Linked DNA regions of Homo sapiens: region 1 is linked to region 2. The links are contacts of gene promoters, found by promoter capture Hi-C in blood cells and fetal thymus (Javierre and others, 2016). All regions are on one chromosome and are shown on one strand. The core of a region is centred on a gene start or on the middle of the fragment in contact, and the rest is flanking DNA. Distances in the headings are between cores, read along the strand shown. Region 1 overlaps KCTD19 (potassium channel tetramerization domain containing 19). Region 2 holds the start of TPPP3 (tubulin polymerization promoting protein family member 3).

The links. The method cuts DNA at HindIII sites, captures the fragments that hold promoters and counts their contacts. A CHiCAGO score of 5 or more calls a contact.
Region 1: a contact is called between a fragment that was not itself captured here and the fragment with the promoter of TPPP3 in region 2, in 1 of 17 cell types (endothelial precursors). The highest score is 5.6, in endothelial precursors.

The regions. Positions count from the first base shown.
Region 1 is chr16:67,290,750-67,293,897 of GRCh38, forward strand. It overlaps KCTD19 (potassium channel tetramerization domain containing 19), which reads right to left. Exons shown (of 16, transcript NM_001100915.3): 12 at 2,795-3,148; 13 at 897-1,088; 14 at 560-714; 15 at 136-237. Among named protein-coding and RNA genes, the nearest start is that of PLEKHG4, 13 kb to the left of the region's middle. The HindIII fragment of the contact is 4,060 bases long and covers 1-3,148 here.
Region 2 is chr16:67,392,171-67,395,347 of GRCh38, forward strand. TPPP3 (tubulin polymerization promoting protein family member 3) reads right to left here and starts at 1,328. Exons shown (of 4, transcript NM_015964.4): 1 at 1,210-1,328. ZDHHC1 (zDHHC palmitoyltransferase 1) reads right to left here. Exons shown (of 12, transcript NM_001323627.2): 10 at 3,017-3,110; 11 at 2,832-2,892; 12 at 1,982-2,723. The coding sequence ends at 2,440. The HindIII fragment of the contact is 5,780 bases long and covers 1-3,177 here.

The DNA of each region.
Region 1 (3,148 bases), core at 626-3,125, 100 kb before region 2:
CCCTGGGAGCAGTGGCCTAAGCTGCCTGTCTAGCCTTCTGGGCAGTGCTGGCCCAGCCCTGGTGCAGCAAGACACACGTCCATCTGAGGCATCCACAGGGTCGGTGGATTCCCAGGGATTGCAAGTGGCCCTCACCTCCACCCAGCTGTACAGGCGCTCCTGGGTGTGCCGGTCATCCTTGAAGCCGGTGATGGCCAGCAAATCTACCACAAACTGCTTGGGGCTGATGTGCAGGGTCTGCCAGGAGAGCCCACAGTCAGGCAGTGCTAGGGCAGCTCCTAGCCCCTCAGAGTGAGATGCAGAGCGGGGACTTCTCTGGGCCCACAGAGCCACAGGGGTAGGGGGCGGGCACTGTCACTGCAAATCTGCCTCTTGGCCGAGGCTCAGTCCAGGTGCAACTGCTCTGCTTGCCTCCCTGTCCCACCACTCTTCTGGCCCTGGCCTTCTCCTTAACCCCATCTTGGCTTACTTCCTCTTGCCTTGCACCACTTATTGTGGGGCAGGGGAAGAGGTGGAGAAGGTACAGGGTGCCCCAGGGCCTGAGGCCTGTCACACATACCCACAGCCGATTGGCCAGGGAGACCACCTTGGCTGTGATGGCTTTGGGGTCCTTTTGCCTGATGGAATCCATGATGATGTCAGCCAGGAAGCAGTGACATTTCTGTGCATAAAACATCTCTTCCCAGGACAGAGAGAAACTCAGGAAAGTCACTTCTGTGGAGGAGGGAAAGTGGATGTGGCCACATCTGTCAATAGCTAGGGCCTTAGAGACAGTGTGAGGAGGGGGAGAGGGGTAGGGCCCCCAGGGGCCACTGTCTCTGCCTGAAGTACCCTGGGAGGGGGCTCAGGCATCCTCACGAGGAGGCGCAGGGCTCGGCCTGGCTCCAGAGCCTCACCTTGGGGCTGGGGACTGGCTGTGGGTGTTGTGTGCCTGAGGTTGTCCATCTCCGTGGTATAGATGATGCTGTCCTCAAAGAACATGCAGAAGCCATCGCTGCCCACCACGGGGGGGTGAGTCACTTTGAGGATAACCCCTAGGCTGTCCACCTCACTGGCCTCGGGCAGAGGCTGCTCAGGGGCAGGGCTTTCTGTGAAAACAACATAGGGAGGGGGCTCTCCTTTTAAAAAAAAATTTTTTTTCAAGATAGAGTTTTGCTTTTGTTGCCCAGGCTGGAGTGCAATGGCACAATCTTGGCTCACTGCAACCTCTGCCTCCCAGGTTCCAGCGATTCTCCTGCCTCAGCCTCCTGAGTAGCTGGGATTACAGGCACCTGCCACCACGCCCGGCTAATTTTTGTATTTTTGGTAGAGATGGGGTTTCACCAGGCTGGTCTCGAACTCCTGACCTTAGGTGATCCACCCGCCTCAGCCTCCCAAAGTGCTGGGATTACAGGCGTGAGCCACACGCACAGGCTTTTAAAATTCTTTTCTTCAATTACCATCAAATCTTCATAAGCAGGGACTCTCCTTAAGCCACCTCAGAGCCCAAGCAGGAAGGGGACCTCTGGTGACAGGCCAGTACAATCAAGTCACCCCAGCCTTGCAACAGCTGCCACCTCTAGTTTCTCAGAAGTGACACCCTGGGCTGGCAGGGGCCTGTCCTGGCCACTCCTCTCTTCATTGCCCTGGCATCACTGCAAGCCAAATCCTGAACATTTTGGAACTCGAAGAAACTCCAGATTCCTCTGTTGAACTAAGACGTATCAAATGGGGCTGAGGGCTGGAAATCTTTATAAAATTTTAAGTTGAGAACTTTTGGGGCCAGCCTTTGATGCATGTCCAAAGAGTGGACATTTGTCATCCCAACCTTGACAGACCAACTTAGGGCTCACAGGCAAGAGTCCAAGAAGGCCCCTCCAAGCAGGGCTGGAGCCACTAATAGGGAAGGTGACAATACTGCAGGCAGGGCTTTGAGGGAGCAGAGGCAGCATCCTGGCACAGCGATTTTCAGCACAGTTCCCTGGCCACCTTCCCTTAGCTGGCTACACAAGCTCTCTCTCCAGTTCAGTCCCTGTAGCCCCTGCTGTCTCCTGGGCTTCTCCACCTGGATGTCCCTCGGCATTTCACACTCAGTATGTGCCCTTCCCCAAGCTCTGCTCTTTCTCTTACCCACACCTCAGTAAGGGCCTATCCACCCCCTTGCAGTCCCACAGGCTAGAAACCTGGCTTCTCCTTGGCCCATCCCTCCTTCCCTCCACTACCTGCCTAGCCTGCTTCCCCTAGCCTAGAAAGAACTCCAAGTGGCTTCGAATACCTAGCTCCTGCTGCATTTCCTCTGCTCCTGGAGCAAACTTTCTGATGGGCACACCTGACCCCGTGCTCTTGTCTAAAATCCTTCAGACGCTGCTCACTCCCATCCTGGTCAGAATGGAGTACCACGTCCTGAAGCTGGCCCACGAGGCCTGTCCTTATGACTTCTGTCTTCAGCCTCATCTTTTATCACGTCTGCATGTGAAGCCTGGCCTCCAGCTAGACCCATGCCCTGCGCTTCCAAACATCCTGGACTTCTCCTTCCTTCCCCTGCTGACTCCCCAGCCCTCAGCCTCTTTTGTGCTCCTGCTTCATAGGCACCTCCTTCCCACAGCACTCATCCCTTCGCCGTGTGTGTTCTCCTGGCCCCTCCAGCCATGCCAATGTGCCAGTCATTTCTGTGTCTGCTGCCTGGCACAGAGATGGCATTGGTGAGCGGGGGGGTCTAGTCCTCCTTTGTCACTAACTTGCTCTGCCATCTTGGCCAAAGAGTTTGCCTTCTCTGTTGTGAATAAGACTTAGATCAAAGGGGGACAGGACTCACCTCTCTCCTTGGTCCTCTGCTTGCTCCAGTCCTTCAGGGTGCCAGCTCTTTTTGGGGGTAAGTATGGCTTGAAGGTTGGCTCTGGCCCCTTGTCTTTCGCTCCAGCTCCAGCCCCTGCCTGTGGTCCTGGATCCTTCTCTGAGGCTGTGGAATGGGCTTTCCAGGCAGCTGAGGTGCTGGGCTGGGAAGCAGCCTCGCTTCCCAAGGGGAGCTGCAGGGTGGCCTCCTCCAAGGGGCTGCTCCGTGTGGCTGTCAGTGGCTGGAATTCCCACTGTTTGCAATTGACCATGTCCCATTCTCTCACCAGGGAGATGAGTTTTTGCATGGGAGTGGCGGGAGGGTCTTTGGTTTCAG
Region 2 (3,177 bases), core at 78-2,577:
TTGTACCCCTGGCCATACCTTCAGCCCTCCATCCTCCATCTTCACACCCACAGCCACAGCCCTCGGCCACCAGCCCCCACATATATACTAACAAGCCTGCGCCAACCCCAGTAATACCCACAGTCCAGCACTAAAGTGCCCCCCACACCCACAGCCCTCCGCTGCAGACCCCTGGCCACACCCTGAGCCTACACAGCAGCCTTCTCCATCCCCACACCCGCAGCCCTGGGGCTGAGGCCCCTGGCCACAAACCTGCATCCCTTCCTGAGACCCCTGACCATAGCCTCAGCCACTCACCCCCTCCAATACCCGCAGCCCTTTATCAAGGCGCCCTGACCCTCAGCACCCCTTTGTCCACACACCCTCAGCCCTCTGGCCACACCCTCAGCCTGCACTGAAGGCCCCAGTCCACATCCACACACTAACATTATAAGACTCCCAGGTACTATGCGGAGATCCCCTGCGTAGAGACCTCCCCACCACATCCCCCTCCTCCACTGCCACCTCCTGACCACACCCTCGGTCTCAGCAACCATCTTCTAGCTCTGCCTTTTACACTAGGGCTTCCAGTGACCACGGCCTGGGCTCTGCCCGGCTGCCCCATCTTCCACCAAAAACTCCTCGCCAGTGACCACACTCCCATCCCTAAGTGGCAGTTTCTGGGACTGTGAGCACCGGTGGTTCCTACGTTACAGGGACCATAACCCCAGTCCACGCTGCACTCCCCTTCCCTTTCCCTGGGTGCAACCTCCCACCAGGGACCCCAAGACCCGCACTTGGTTCACCAAGGGTAACGTCCAGGGGAGCTTGGATGCCACAGGGTGCTTGGCCCAAGCACTGGGCGGATCCTGCGTGCAGTGCTCACTCCTGTCCGTGGAAAGATGGATTCTTGGTCATCTCAGCGCGGTCAGGTGGCGCTGGGTTGCAGGCCGCAGCCCCATGGGTCTGCAGGCCATGGATGGAGTGGCCACACCCGTGAACTGGAGCCACCCGTCCCGCTCCCACTGGGACAGCTGGAGTCATCAATCAGCCGGACCAGGAGGTGGGGGCTGCGAGGTGGAATGCTTGGGGCCAGGGCAGGGCCGCTCAGCTGGCTCCTCGGCTGGGACCGCCGGAGGTTGGGACCCTTTCCAGGCTGCTCCCCCCAACCCTCATCGTGCAGGATACTGATTGGGGTGGCGGGCATCTGGGTCTCCTATGGGCTTCTACCTCGCGGCTGCTCCTGAAGTGTGCGTTCGGAAGGACAGAACGACGCAGGAATGGACCGATGGACGCGGGAGACCAGGCGGCTCCGCAGCTCCGCTCCCTGCCGGCTCCCGGGTGGGACTGCAGCCCAGGCGGCTCCGCCGTATTATCCCCTGTTTCTCGGTCTCCATAGAGACGGCGAGTCCCACCCCCGAGGCTGTCTCGGCGGGAGAGTGACCAAGGTCACGCCGGCCCCGCCCACGAGGCCCCGCCCTCCCCGAGACTCTCCGGGAGCCGCATCCCGCCCCTCCCCCGCAACTCCGCGGTCCTCGCGACGGCGAGACCAGCGCTCTGCAGTTCGGGGCGTCTTCGGACGGCCCCCTGAGGAAACAGCCTCCCATCCTGGGATGTGCCTAAAGCTCTAAGCGGCCCCAATCTCCAGAAGAGATCCAGCTCCCCAGAGAGTCAACCAGAGGCCACTGGGGAGCTGCGCGGGGCATTGGTGGGGCTTGGGGAATCGGGAAGGAGCTCTCCCTCAGTGACAGGGGTATACGGTTGACTCAAGAGCACTGCCATCCACTGAACGGATGGCACCCCCAGGCCACAACTCCCGTGCTCTCTTGGGTAGGATTCAGAGCCTGGAGCAGTGGGGAAGAAGGGAGGGGACTCCCTACGAGCGAATCGCGCTCGCCCAGCCCCAGGATGCTGGCATTCGACGGCAGCCCTGCTGCCGGGGAAAAGCTGCGGGACCTCCTGGCTCGGCCCCCTCCTTTCGCCGCCACCTCCCCACGGCCTCGCAGCCTCAGCGCCCACTGCTGCTTTCGGAGCCCAAAGCCTGCTTTCTCTCGGCCTCCCAGTGCAAAGCCCATCTTTAAGAAAAATAACCTCCTCCAGGCCGCCTTCTAAGGCCTTTCCTAACCACGAGCCGCACGTGAGCACCTCCACAGGGCAGCCTGGGTGGCTACCTACTATACAGGGACCTCCTCCCCGCCCCCGGTCCACTGGCCAGGGTCGGGCTTCTGGATGGCCCGTGGCCCCTGCCATTAAGAAAGTAAGCGCGACGTCCGCAAAAGCATAAAAAAGTTTATTGGAGCATCACAGCCGGTGGGGCGGGTATTGCTGAGTCGTGGGGGAGGGAGGCCGATCCCGCCGGCCGTAGGGGCCCCTAAAGTGCACTCGGTGCGGCAAGGATGGGGTGTTGCATAGAGAGTCAGGCCGGCCGCTCTAACTCGGCCCTCCGGCCTCTCGGCCCAGCTAAGCCAGACCAGCCTCCCGGCCGCCCGGCGCCCTGGGCTCGCCGCTGCTCGGGCTCACGAAAACGGCGGGCGCACGCGCCTGCCGCGCCAGCGTGGGCTGTCGGCCCCGGCCCCGCGGGGCGGCCAGAGCGGCGCTGCCCAGGCGCGTCTGCGCCACTGGAATCTCGTCCACGGACTCTGCCGACGCCGAGTGGTAGGCGCCGGCAGGGCCAGCGGCGTGCACAGGGCTGGCGTCCGCGGAATCCGTCGACGAGCTGGAGCGGCGGCTGGGGGCCCTAGGCCCTGCGCAAGGGAAGGGAACATGAGCCCAGTGGCTGCGGCTCGCTTGTGGCTCTGCCTTCCCCTCCCTCGAGTTCCCAGAGCAGGACCCGGACAGGGAGAGGCGCTCACCCGACGCCGGATCCGAGGTCTCAGACGTTCGCACTTTATACACGCGCCTCTTCCTCTTTTTCTGCAGAGACACGGGGGAGCCTGAGGGCCCCACATCGCCAAAAGAAGCAGAGGCGAGCGCCAGGGTAGAGGCTTCTTTCTATCCCACTCCACCTGGACCGGAGGCCCAGCACAGTCCCTCCTACCTGGGGTCGGATCCGGGGAGGCAGGGCGAGAGTGTCTGGGGAAGAGGGTGGTGGAGGTTCCGCTTGGCCACGGGTGGCAAGAAACTGGGAGGGACTGAGGGGGAAGCAGGAGGGTAAGCCTGGGGCCTGTTCCCCAAATCCCTCCCCACTGGAGGTGCTGA